3 separate regions of the Homo sapiens genome follow, and regions 2 and 3 are each linked to region 1. Evidence: promoter capture Hi-C in 16 types of primary human blood cells and fetal thymus (Javierre and others, 2016). All regions are on one chromosome and are shown on one strand. The core of a region is centred on a gene start or on the middle of the fragment in contact, and the rest is flanking DNA. Distances in the headings are between cores, read along the strand shown.

The links. Contacts are between HindIII fragments. The CHiCAGO score rates a contact against its expected background, and 5 or more counts as called.
Region 2: a contact is called between the fragment with the promoter of HECTD2 here and the fragment with the promoter of NOC3L in region 1, in 1 of 17 cell types (total CD8 T cells). The highest score is 5.1, in total CD8 T cells.
Region 3: a fragment that was not itself captured here is called in contact with the fragment with the promoter of NOC3L in region 1 in 1 of 17 cell types (activated CD4 T cells); the score reaches 6.4 in activated CD4 T cells.

The regions. Positions count from the first base shown.
Region 1 is chr10:94,360,447-94,364,911 of GRCh38, reverse strand. NOC3L (NOC3 like DNA replication regulator) reads left to right here and starts at 1,973. Exons shown (of 21, transcript NM_022451.11): 1 at 1,973-2,082; 2 at 3,040-3,247. The coding sequence starts at 2,074. RefSeq lists a silencer at 1,770-1,899 and an enhancer at 2,040-2,299. The HindIII fragment of the contact is 1,523 bases long and covers 1,545-3,067 here.
Region 2 is chr10:91,408,567-91,413,031 of GRCh38, reverse strand. HECTD2 (HECT domain E3 ubiquitin protein ligase 2) reads right to left here and starts at 2,688. Exons shown (of 21, transcript NM_182765.6): 1 at 2,456-2,688. The coding sequence starts at 2,593. The region is part of intron 3 of HECTD2-AS1 (HECTD2 antisense RNA 1); the gene reads left to right. RefSeq lists a silencer at 2,332-2,921 and an enhancer at 3,072-3,281. The HindIII fragment of the contact is 4,522 bases long and covers 1,841-4,465 here.
Region 3 is chr10:91,918,169-91,922,633 of GRCh38, reverse strand. No RefSeq gene overlaps it. Among named protein-coding and RNA genes, the nearest start is that of BTAF1, 3.4 kb to the left of the region's middle. RefSeq lists an enhancer at 1-122. The HindIII fragment of the contact is 1,456 bases long and covers 1,111-2,566 here.

The sequences.
Region 1 (4,465 bases), core at 724-3,223:
AAATCTTAAAAATGGAAGAGATTTGAATATGTTTATAAGCTGAGGGGAAGGATCTATTAGAGAGGGAAAGAACACAGGAAAGAAGGGATAATTAATGATACAAGAATCTGATGAAGCTGGGAGGAGTTGGTTTTGAACTGGAATGGGGATGCCTCATCCTTGGAGAGACTGGAAGGAAGGCTAAAAGGATGGGAGTGACTGTAGATATGTTGATATGCTTGGGAGGGAATTCAGGCACTTGGGAAGAGCACAGGCTGATGTTTTCCACTTGTTTGATGAAGTAATACTCCAGCGGGACAGGCTCTGCTGTTTCTGACACTGTGTGGAAGGAGACAGAGCAAGGAAGAAGTTGGAAGGGAGGTTGAAAGAAGAGTGCCAGATGGACCTCTTGGTCTTTGTGGTGGGATCAGGAAATTGGTACTTTTTTCCCTCAGTCTCTCTAAGAGCAACACTATTCAAGGGGCTCAGAACCCTTTGAGCCGCACTACTGGGTTTTCCCACCTGCTCAGGACTGCGAGGCCAGACTCTGTGTCAGGGCCATGCTCAAAAATCATAGACTCAAAAAAACCCACAAAAAACTTGAAGTGGAATGCTTAAATTTATTGAGAAAAAAAAGTCTTTGAGAGACAAGCACTTTGATACTCTTATTCTTGCAATCCATAAAACTTCCTGTAAAAATGAACGACTTTAGGCGGGGCGCGGTGGCTCATGCCTGTTATCCCAGCACTTTGGGAGGCCAAGGTGGGCGAATCACGAGGTCAGGAGATCGAGACCATCCTGGCTAACACGGTGAAACCCCGTCTCTACTAAAAATACAAAAAAAATTAGCTGGGCGTGGTGGCGGGCGCCTGTAGTTCCAGTTACTCGGGAGGCTGAGGCAGGAGAATGGCGTGAACCCAGAAGGCAGAGCTTGCAATGAGCCCAGATTGCGCCACTGCACTCCAGCCTGGGCGCCAGAGCAAGACTCCGTCTCAAAAAACAAAAACAAAAAACGACTTTGGTGAAATTACTAAGCAGACAGAATTTACCCAAAGTTGTAAGATACTGAAATGCAGATACAGTTTTTTATTTTTATTTTTATTTTTTAGACAGTCTTGCTCTGTCACCCAGGCTGGAGTGCAGTGGTGTGATCTCGACTCACTGCAACCTCTGCCTCCTGGGTTCAAGCGATTCTCCTGCCTCAGCCTCCCGAGTAGCTAGGATTACAGGCGCACGCCACCATGTCTGGCTGATTTTTGTATTTTTAGTAGAGACAGGGTTTCACCATGTTGGCCAGGCTGGTCTCGAACTCCTGGAACTCAGGTGATCCACCCGCCTCTGCCTCCCTAAGTGCTGGGATTACAAGCGTGAACCACCGCACCCAGCCATGGATACAGTTCTTTATCAGCTAATGGTTAAAAATTAAAGCAAAAAAAAAATGCAAAATAAAACACTAAGAATCACAGACTTTTAAGTGACCAAGGCTGATGAGAAATCATTCGCCATGCTACAAACACGGCCAGAATGTCCGTCGAGGGGCAGGCATTACACACAAAAAATAAGCTTCTTTCTGCCCTCAGGACTGTATGGAGGAAAAAGACTACGAAAATCAGTATCTATAACAGCATGAGATAAGCAACGTGAGGAGAGGCACAAAATGCAATGAGGTGACCGAAAAAACCAAGTCCTCTCATTCTGAGAGGAGGAGCCCGATTTCCCCAAGGTTTTAAAAGAAATAAATAGGGCGAGAGTCAAAGAATCATACTCAGATAACCTTGCAAAATGCGCCCCTCCCGCCCGGCTTCCCGCCTTTGGCACCGACGCCCTCGGGGCTTCCCTCGTGCCAGTCCGCGCGCGCACGCCGGGGGGCAACCGGTCCAGGGCCGCGAGACAGTCACCGCGAGAGGGCGCGAGCCCGAACCTGTCTACGGAAGTCCCGCCCTCACTTCCGGCGGCGGAGGATTGGGAGGGACTGAAGGCCGTTTCCGGCTCTGGTAGTGTAGGGACTTCGGCACGTGTGTCATTCCCCGGGATTTCTGTAGTAACCCTGCTTCTGGTGAACTTGTCTGGCCGGCATTCATTTAAGGCCTAAGGATGAAGGCGGTAAGTGTCCTCAAAAGCCCGGTCGCCGCGGCCTAGGGCCCCTTCGGGTGATAGAGTCACTGCCTGAGTTAGCTTTTAGGCAGGTTTTCACCCGTGTCTAGGGGGCGGTGGTTTAGACTGGGGGCTTTCCATTCCTTACACCGAGCTCATCCTTGGTTACCCACTGTGTGCGCGCACCACTTCAGAGTATCACGAAGAGACAGGCACGGAGTTTTGCATGCGTGGGATTTCATACTTTGAAGGAATTTTTCAAGACCGTCTTTCGAACTCGTTTTTCACAAATGAGAAGCAGGGTCCTACCCTCAGCGAGTTTATAATGTGAGTCACGGTACCCATGAAGGGTAAAGAGATAGAAAAGCAAGTGATTTGTCCTGGTTCTCCCAGAAAATAAGAGGTAGTCCTGGGGTTCAGGACTAACTTTGGGATTTCTGAATGAGTCACCAGCAAGAGAAGTGGAATCCAAAGATCCGAATTCAGTTTTGCCCTCCTTAGTTTATGGGTCTTTTGGCAGCTTCATCAGTAATGTGAGGATAACAGCAGTCAGTACTCAACTAGGCTGTTAGAGGTGATTTGTTGGAGCACTTTGTAAGTAATAAAATCGTAGATAAATGTAAGTTTTATTAAAGACAGCCAGCATTTTGCTTTGAATGTGTTAAACTACAGGTGTGTTAAACTAGCCTTGAATAGCCACTTACCACTACTAGATCAGTGGTTCTTAACCTGTTTGGGGATCGTAGAACCCTTTGAATTGCTGTGAATTGGGATTGAATAACTGATGCTGTAGCGCTCTTCTGTAGGATTAAAGCCATCGTTTGGTTTTAGCTTTTATATGCAAGTCTGTGGCTGTGGGACATTGAAATTGTGGAATTGGTCTAATGAAATTTGTAATCAGTTCTCTTTAACCTGATTTAAAAAATAAGTTTCTGGGTATGCAGTATTCTTTCTGTTATTTTCTAGAGAAGAAATAAAAAACAGATCCCAAGCTTTCGCAAGTTAATAAAAACTAGTAAAGTCAAACTTGAAAACAAGCTAAAAAATAAGCAGTTTAAACAACAAAGCACTCTCAAGAAGTACCGAAAAGAACAGAGGAAACTAAGGCAAGCTGTGAAAGATGCTGTGTCTAAGAAACCCATTCCATTGGAGAACCCAAAGGAAAAGCGACCAGGTAATTGTGAAAACATCATGTGCTCTGGTTTCCATTGATTTATTCTGAAGTGTTCTTCATGGAAATAACTTTGCTTTCTAGTAATCGCTTTTCTTGTTCTCAGATCTTCCTAGAGTGGGTAAGGATAGTAGTCCTATAGGACTGCTATAAAGCATATATGCTTTATCACAGTCAGTATGAGAAAACATTTCAATACAGTATTCATTCAAGCTTCTGCTTTTAGTTTGTCTGGAAGGCAGATCTGAAGATGCACTACTTGGGAAAACAAACTGAAAGTACTCCGTTACATAAATATTGGGCAGTGTGCCAGTGCTGCCACTTTGCCATTCACCAGCAGTTAGGTAAGGTAAGAACATTGCTTGTCTCTGGTTCATTCTTCACAGTATTGCCAAGGTACACTTCTAAACTTCTGACTTTCTTTTCATGTGGAAACTTGGGGTGAAATTGAGTTGTAATTGTCATGGTTATTTTGTAAAACTATCTAAAAATTATTAAGTACTCAAAACTTGTAAGGAATATGACTATTTTGAGTCAGGCTAGTTCTACAACTTTGCTGGTACTTTTAGGGTATTCTTATTTGACTATATCAGATTATTAGACAACTATTCAGTCTTCTCAGGTCCATTTTTTAAAAATTATTATTATTATTTTAAATAGACAGGGTCTTGTTCTGTCACCCAGGCTGGAGTGCAGTGTGCAAAAATAGCCCACTACAGCCTTGACCTCCTGGGCTCAGGCAGTCCTCCTGCTTCAGCCTCCAAAAGTGCTGGAATTGCAAGGGTGAGCCACAGCACCCAGCTAAAGTTTTTTTTTTTTCTAATTTTGTGGGTACATAGTAGGTGTATATATTTATGGGATACATGAGGTACTTTGATACAGGCATACAATGCATAATAATCACATCAGAGTAAATGTGGTATCCATCACCTCAAGCATTTATCTTTGTGTTACGAACAATCCAGTTATACTTTTTTAGTTATTTTAAAACATAAAATAAATTATTGTTGACTATAGTCATCCTATCTATCAAATACTAGATCTTTTTCTAAGTGTATTTTTGTACCCATTAACCATCCCTACTCCTATCTCCTCCAACTGCCTTTCCCAGCCAGTGGTAACCATCATTCTACTCTCTTCATGAGTTCAGTTGTTTTAATTTTTAGCTACCACAAATAAGTGAGAACATGTGAAATTTGTCTTTCTGTGCCTAGCTTGTTT
Region 2 (4,465 bases), core at 1,439-3,938, 3.0 Mb after region 1:
ACAATCACTGGAATGTCTCAAAGAAAAAGTTATTGATGACAATTAGGTTCCTAAGCAAACCTCTAGGAGCTCTATTTAATCTACAGGAGGCTGAAAAACAACTCAAGAGGCCACAAGCTGTATTTCCCTGCCCACCTACCTCACACATCAAGACCTCCTCCCCCTCCCCACACATACCAAGGCCTTCCTAGCTGCTGTAAAAGTCAATCACCACCCCAGTTCTCCTGGATTTCTTATCCTTTGGATGGACTAAGGACCAAGCATAGATTTTCTACACTTAAGCTTTTCACTGCTATTAGCTCTGAATTCTAGCTTTGAAGTCTCTCTTTGACAAATACACACACACACACACACACACACACATTCTGCCACAGATCCTGTCATAAATTGTTTTTTTTTTTAAAAAATAAATAATCAATGGTACTGACTCTGAAAGACTTTATAAGGCACAAGCAAGGCTGAGGCAGGAGAATGGCTTGAACACGAGAGGCAGAGATTGCAGTGAGCCGAGATCAGGCTACTGCACTTCAGCCTGGCGACAGAGCAAGACTCCGTCTCAAAAAGAAAAAAAAAAAACCCTCAAGTTTTGTATATTTATCCTTATCCTCTTCTATTCCAACTCATACCTTTTCAAAGTTTAATTCAAGATTTAAATTTTTTTCTTGAATATATTCTTCTCTTTGTCTAGTAGTACAAGTCCATAATCCTCTATTTACAATTTCAAAGTCCTATAAATTCTTGAAACTGAAGTGTCTTTGCAACTCATTTGGTGGCAAAAACATGCACCTAATCTGAAATGACATGACGCTACTGACTTTTTCCCTTTAGCATGAACACATAATTTCATTACAGTTATTAAGATGGTTGATTAGAGAGAACTGGCTAGGACCTTACTGTGGGTATTAAATAATATATGATATATGTACCGAATTACCTTTCTAAAATCTGAAAAACTTGAAATCCCAAAGCAGACTGTAGACTTGTATCCACACTTGCAAATTCCAAAACGGCAATTTTTCAGTTATGAGATGAATAGGTTTTTGGGAGAGCGTTTGCTTGAGGACCTAAACCCACTCATTTAACTGTTTCTATAAGTACATACATTTACTGTTTTAAACAACCAACTTAGAAATGAACTGCTGGAATTCTGTGAGTTAAAGACTTCCTATATAAAATCTGAAAACCTAGGGTACCAGCAGCAGGAACCAGGTCTCCAAGCAGCTGGGTGACAAATTCCTTCAAAGCATTTTCTAGGGTAATCCCTAACCCCAGCTCCAATCTACCAATCAATTGTAGCTACGCTTTTAAACGTGTATCATTACTGTTCGCAATTTGCTGCATTGATTTAAAGAGCTTGTTTTAACAATTTCCAGTTATCAGGGCCCTCAGACATTTTTGAAAAACCTACCGAATCCGAAAATTATTCCTAACACCAATACAGTACTTAACGAAGAGTGAGCTATTTTAGTAAGTTCTTAGTCATTTAAGAGGGAGGTTTTAAGAAATGAACCGCAAGTAGGAATAAAGAAAATGTATAATGTTCACTAAACTTTTACTATTTTGTCACACACAGCTGCATGACAAGTCATGATCTTTAAATATATCAAAGCAAACTTTCAAAAAGTACTTAAATATTATGTCAAAATAAAAAATTGCAAAATCCGAGGTTTTTTTTTAAATTGTGCTTCAAATTAACCAGTCACAACCACCAGTAAAAATAGGGAAAGAGGGGGAGGGGGCTGTCCCATGACATCATCTGGCAATATGTAGTTTGAAGCCTGACAGCGCTCTCCAAATAACCCTTACGAAGATACAGCTGGGAAATCATCCCTGTCAAGCTTAGATAACTTGGGTTTAAATAAAAGGTTCAAAAAGCCTCCCCCCACCTGAGTCACATGTCTGTACCATATGAAAAATAAAACCATCACTGATGCATCTACCTCCCACTACACTGACAGCAACGGAAAGGTCACAATTAAGTGGAAACTCGCCGCAGAGCCTGTTTAATCTGAAGGGGGAAGGGAAAGAAAAGCGAAGAAAAGGACAAAAATCTGCGCGCCTCCAAGGCAGGCAGGCAGGCAGGCACCTCCGTGGAAAACCCACTCCCGCCTGCTGACACCTATGCTCATCCAACAGATCATGCCGACTCAAGATGCAGGTCATTCTCTTAGAGAAAGTGGGGGCCCAAGCCCCAGAAAATAACCCAAACATCCAGCGGAACCGACCACCCCCAACATTTCCCGAGGGTGGTAGGTGTACCTCGCGAAGTGTTCGGGGCTGTCCACGAGGCACAACTCTTTTATTTCTGCCCAAGGAAGGGCGGCCTGAGTGCGTCTCCCTGGAGTGCCAGGGCGTGCCCAGGGTAAACGCAGGCCTCCTGACGGCCCTCGCCCGGCCGCCGTCCCTCCCAACTCCCGCCGTCCGGGGCGCCAGACGGCCCCGGCCCACCACCTACCGCGGTCGCGCCGGCGCCCGCCGATACGATGGGCGGCAGCTTCTCGCGCTCTGACTCCTTCCCTTTCCTCTCCTCAGGCGCGGGCGCCGCCACCACCAGCGGAGTGGCGGGCGAGGGTACCCGAACCGCCTCACTCATGTCGGGCCGGGCGGCGGGAGCGCCAGGCGGCGGCGGCGGCCTCAGTGTTGCTGGGGCTGGCGCTGCTGCTGCCGCCGCGGCCGCGAGAGGGCTCTGGGCTGCCGCTTCTAGCCGCCGCTGCCGCCGCCACTCCGCCCCCGCCCGCGCCCGCGCCTTTGCGCGCGAGCCCGAGGCCGCCCCCGCGCGCGCCAGCCCCGCGGACGCGGCTCCCCACAGGTCCCACAGGTTTCTTGCTCTCGCCTCCCCCGCCCGCCCGGGGCTCGCGCGTCGCGGGTCGGGAGCGCCGGCGGTAGTCCCCCTCGTCAACCCCGAGGGCCCGGAGAGAAGGCGCCACGGTCGACGCCCGACCGCCATATTGTTTGCAGAGTGTCGCCCGAGATGACGAGGAGACCCCGCACCCGGGCCGCGCAGGAGAACCTGGACTAAGGACGGGCAGTCGGGGAGACAAGTCGAGCCCTGCAAAGGGTCGGACGGGGATAGAGTGTCCGAGTGGTACCAGTAGGGCAGGACGTAGGCACAGACTACCCTTCACGGACGGCCCTGGCCTGCGGCGCCGAGTCCCGCGGGCAAGCGCCCTCGGGGTCTGGGCTGGTGGCCTTTCGCCTTCTTCCAGGCGCCCACAAAGCTGTCCGCCTTGGGGCTTCTGCCTTCTTATCCTTGCCCGCCCTCCTGAGCCCAGGAGAGGCGGCCCGGAGCTTGCGCAGCCCGGGGAGACAGCCTTCCTGGCTCAGCAACCGACTCTTTTGTACACGCCTGGATGGCTTCAGCCTACACAGGAAAAGCCTGGAGGTGGGGAGGAGTGCGACGTGGTGGGCCCCCCCTTTCCCCTTCCCCCATAGGATTGGACGGCCAGTCCACACTTTCCATTCCTGTTCCTCTCGTCCCTCTTTGACTGCCAAATCCGCCTCTCCCTTCCCGTCCCCACGCGCCTACGTTTTGCTCTCTCCCCGCAACCCTTTGCTGTCTCCTATCCGTCCCTTCCTTGTTCCTTTCCGTTTATGTTAGAGATGTACATACCCAAACTCTGCTGCACAGTCCTCAATCAAATCATTACAAATAGGAGTAAAAACTTGAAAGCCGAAGAAGAGAGCTTTTAATTATGAAATTAAAATACCCCCCACCTCCACCACCAGGACACCTAGACAATTTCCTTTCCTTTCTTGTCGCCCCCTCCTTTTCCTTTTTCTCAGTCTACTGGAGCGGCGGGGACACCTGCTGATCTAGGAGAAAAGAGAGTAAGAATGCGCTGTATCGCCTGTTAAAAGCAAGGAATTTCGATATTCAGCTCTATCAGATTTTTTATCTGTGCCTTCATTATTTTATTGGAGGTTGAGTGAATTTTTAGATCAAGAGTACCTAAGTCCAAATATAAGAACCAAAAATATCTCTGAAACAAACCCAAATATGATTTCGGGGTATCTATTGTTTACATAATTTGGAGTTATTAGTATAACTAAATACTAGTTATGGTGCATCATGAGATAAGGTTGCATGTTTTCAAACCCACAATTTGTAACAAGTAGATCTGAAGCAAACAATGTTGCCTTCTAAATTTTGAATTCTGACTTTCATTTATAGAAAGGCTTTCTACTTTAATATAGTTGCTGTTGCCACCTATTTACTTGTTAATTAACAAAAGGTATAGAATAAGTGCCATATAGTCAGCAAAAAGTATTTCAGTGCTAATAGCCTTGGAGGGAAAATGATGTATGTCGGCATTACTTTGAAGCATCCTCCTCCTTTCTATTAATATTTTTCTAAATTCTTTTTCAGGATTTTCTTTCCTTAAAACTACTGAAATACTCATCCCATAGAGAGGAACATAACATTATTTTCTGCTTTTAGCAGGTCTGTATGCTGATCATGGATACA
Region 3 (4,465 bases), core at 589-3,088, 2.4 Mb after region 1:
GTACTGCAGAAGATTGTGGGAATAAAATGAGGTCATGAATCTAGAAGAGCTTACAAGAACTTTGTAAACCATAAAGTAGTATATATGTATGTAAAGAGAAAGAAACTAACAAGTACCTGCTGTGTGCTGGGCACATGACATGCATTATCCATATAATTTGTAGGGAAGCCTTGAAAAGTTAGTTTTAATCTTCGTAGACAAGGAAACTAAGCTCAGAAAGGTTAAGTAATTTGCCTCAAGATTCAAGCTAGTAATAATATTTATTGTCCAGTCATTCAACAAATGTTTGTCACCTCTCTGTATCAGAAACTCTGCTTGGCGGTGTTCATGCTATTAAAATCTAATCAAGTTGATGTTCAAGATATCTTTACATTTTCACTTTAGTCACCTACTTGCCTCATCAGTTTATCTCCCACCATTCAATAACAAGCAGATACTTTTTACTGATCGTGTACAGCAATCATTTAGCCAAAATTAAGCACCTACCATATGAGAGACTGGAACTTCTGAAGAAACCAGAACAGACAAGGTGCCTACTCTGGTTGAATTTACATTAAAAGGAAAGGAAAAAGAAAATAGATAAACATTGAAAATATATTTATGTGCTATGTAAAGAGAATGATGGAATTAATGGTATGATTAAAGACCTACTCTTACTGGGTAAATCAGGGAAAAACAGGATTAGCTTAAGCTGAGCCCTAAATGACAAGAGGTAGCTAAATGTGTGACAATCTGGGAGCCTTCCAGGAAGAGGGTATACGTAGTGCAAAGGCGTAAGAGAAGTCTGCTCTGTTGGGAAATGAGATGGGAGAAGTAGAAAGGGATCATCGTAAGGAATTTGGACTTTGCTCCATATGAAGTAGAAAGTCATAGAGTTTTAAGCAAGTGAGTAAAATGATCTTAGTTATATTTTTTAAATCTTTTTATTATCAGATAATTGGGTATATAGTCTAAATGGCATTAGAAGAGAGGAAAGGACTGGTGGTGTAGATTTGTAAAGGATAGTGTAATAATCAAATATATTGATATTGGACCGGCTTGTTTTTAAATCCTTTCTCACCACACTGAATCGCAGTGTCTCCAGGGGGAATTTTAGAACCTCTCTAAGCTTCATCTGGGAAATGAGGATAATAATAGTACTCATAGGGTTGCGGTGATGATTAAATTAATGCACATAAAACATTTAACCAAGTGACTGCCACGAGAAGCCCTCAAAAATATTATTAACTACATTGCTTACTGTTTTTGTTAACAATGGAAACTTGAGTAAGTGGCAATTTCTAGTCTCAATTTATTCAGCTGTGAAACGGGGATAATAATAGTACCAGTTCACCACCGTTATCTATACCAGTTCATCACCCCTGCCAGATGGTTTTCTGAGTTAAGAATTATTTAGGTTTTGAAAAGAAATCCAATGAATATACCTTGTATTATGCAGCATCCCAACAGCTTGTAGGGCAGTACTCTATAATCAAATATATTTATAGAGCTGCAGCAAAATGTATGACTAACCATACTAAGAGGAATAAGTAAAAGACTATAGATAGGCATATGCCAGTTCAGGCCAGGATTTGCTGCCAAATATATATATTTTGAGATGGCATTTTGCTGTTTCCAAGGCTGGTCTTGAACTCCTGGGCTCAAGCAGTCCTCCCATCTCAGCCTCATGAGTAGCTGGGACTATAGGTGAGTTTTTAAAAGTGTGGTTTTCAGACCATTTTCAATTTCAGAATTGTAAATAATAGATCATGAACCTGTACTTATAGAATTGTCATAAGGAAGAAATGAGTTCATACATGACACACTTAGAAAATACTAAGTATTAGCCAGGTGTGATAGTTCATGCCTGTCATCCCAGCACGTTGAGAGGCTGATGTGGGAGGATCGCTTGAGCCCAGGAATTCGAGACCAACCTGGGCAACATAGGGAGACCTCATGTCTACAAAAAAAATTTTTTTTAATTAGGCTGGGTGCGGTGGCTCATGCCTGTAATCCCAGCACTTTGGGAGGCCAAGGCAGGCAGATCATGAGGTCAGGAGATGGAGACCATCCTGGCTAACACAGTGAAACCCAGTCTCTATGAAAAATACAAAAAATTAACCGGGCATGGTGGCGGGCACCTGTAGTCCCAGCTACGCGGGAGGCTGAGGCAGGAGAATGGCATGAACCTGGGAGGCAGAGCTTGCAGTGAGCCAAGATCACGCCACTGCACTCCAGCCTGGGTGATGGAGCAAGATTCCGTCTCAAAAAAAAAAAAAAAAAAAAAGCCAGCTGTTGGTGGCATGTGCCTATAATCTTGGCTACTCAGGAGGCTAAGGTGGGAGGATCCCTTGAGCCCAGGAACTTGAGGCAACAGTAAGCCATGATCATGCTACTCTACTCTAGCCTGGGTGACAGAAGGAGACCCTGTTTCAATGAAAAGAAAAGACTAAGTATTAAATAAATATTAACTATTATGATTAACTATTTTAGTTATTATTATTTATAATAACTAAATGTACACCATTAAGTGAACAAATATTCACATTATAGGAGTTAAGGAAGGAGAAGTGATAACGAAAAAGCTTATTTAGTGAAATTATTGCTAAAAAAACCTTTCAAGTCTTGGGACAGATATAGAGGGGCAGATTCATAAAACTGAAAGATCCCCCAATAAATACAGCCCAAAGACATCCTCACCAAGGCACATAATAATCAAACTGTCAAAATTTAAAGAAAAATAAAGAATTTTAAAAGCAGCAAGAGAAAAGTGTCAAGTCACATATACGGGAATCTCCATTAGACTACCAATAGATTTCTCAGGAGAAACCTTATAGGCCAGGAAAGAATAAGATTATATATTCAAAGTGCTGAAAGGAATGAAGAAATGAAGAAGAAATAAAGTTTTTCCCAAACAAGCAAAAGCTGAAGAAACTCATCACTACTAGGTCTGCCCTACAAGAAATGCCTAATGGAAGTTTCTTTCTTTCCTTTTTTTTTTCCTTCGAAGTCTTGCTCTTGTCCCCCAGGCTGGAGTGCAATGGCACAATCTTGGCTCACTGCAACCTCCGCCTCCTGGGTTCAAGCAATTCTCCTGCCTCAGCCTCCCGAGTAGCTGGGATTACAGGCAACTGCCACCACACCTGGCTAATTTTTGCATTTTTAGTAGAGACGGGGTTTCACCATGTTGCCCAGGCTGGTCTCAAACTCCTGACTCCAGGTGATCCACCTGCCTCGGCCTCCCAAAGTGCTAGGCTTTCTTGCTTTCTTCCTTTCTTCCTTCCCTTCCTTCCTTCCTTCCTTCCTTCCATCCTTCCTTCCTTCTTTTCTTTCTTTCTTTTTTTGACAGGGTCTTGCTTTGTTGCTGGAATTCAGTGGCACAATCATGATTCACTGCCACTTTGAATTCCTCCCAAGTAGATGGAACTATAGGCATGTACCACTGTGCCCAGCTAATATTTATTTATGTATTTATTTACTATAGAGATGGAGTCTTGCCATCTTGCTTAGGCTGGTCTCAAACTCCTGGACTCCAGTGATCCTCCTGTCTTGGCCTCCCAAAGTGTTGAGATTATAGGTATGAGCCACCATGCACAGCCATGGAGTTCTAGTATAAACAAAATGATGATAATAATTATTATGAATACAAATGAAAATATAAAACTCACTAGTAGAGATAAATATATAGATAAACCTAGAATACTCCAGTACTGTACTGGTGATATGTAAAGCATACATATCTCTAGTATAAAGGTCAAATGTCAAAATGGTCAAAAAAATAACAAAAGCTACAATAAGTTGTTAAATAATATACAATATAAAAAGGTGTAAATTGTGACATCAAAAACACAAATTGTGTAGCTGGGCATGGCATATGCCTGTAAACTCAGCTACTCAGGAGGCTGTGGTGGGAGGATCACTTGAGCCTAGAAGTTCAAGGTCAGTCTAGACAATGTAGCAAGACCTTGTCTCTTAAAAAAAAAAAGAAAGAAAGAAAAAAAAAACAGTATGTAGAGGAGAAAAGTCTAGAGTTTTTGCACGTAACAGATGTTATCAGCTAAAAACAGTTGACTATAACTATAAGATGTTTTACGTAAGCCACATGATAACCATAGCAGTTATGCAAACAATAAAGAGAAAGAAAACAAAGCTTAGTACTACAGAGGATTATCAAATTTTTTTAATTAAAAAACAAATAAAGGTGCTACAAAACAACCAGAGATAAACAAAGATGCTAAAAAACAACCAGATATAAAATAACAAAGTAAAAATAGTAAGTCCTTCCTTTAATAATAATCTTGAATGTAATTGGACTAAATTCCCCAGTCAAAAGACATCGAGTTGCTAAATAGATTTTTAAAACAAGACCCAACTATATGCTATCTACAGGAGACGAATTAAGCTTTAAGGATACCCACAGGCTGAAAGTAGAGATGAAAGAAGGTATTATATGCAAATGGTAACCAAAAGACAGCAGGGAGGCCAG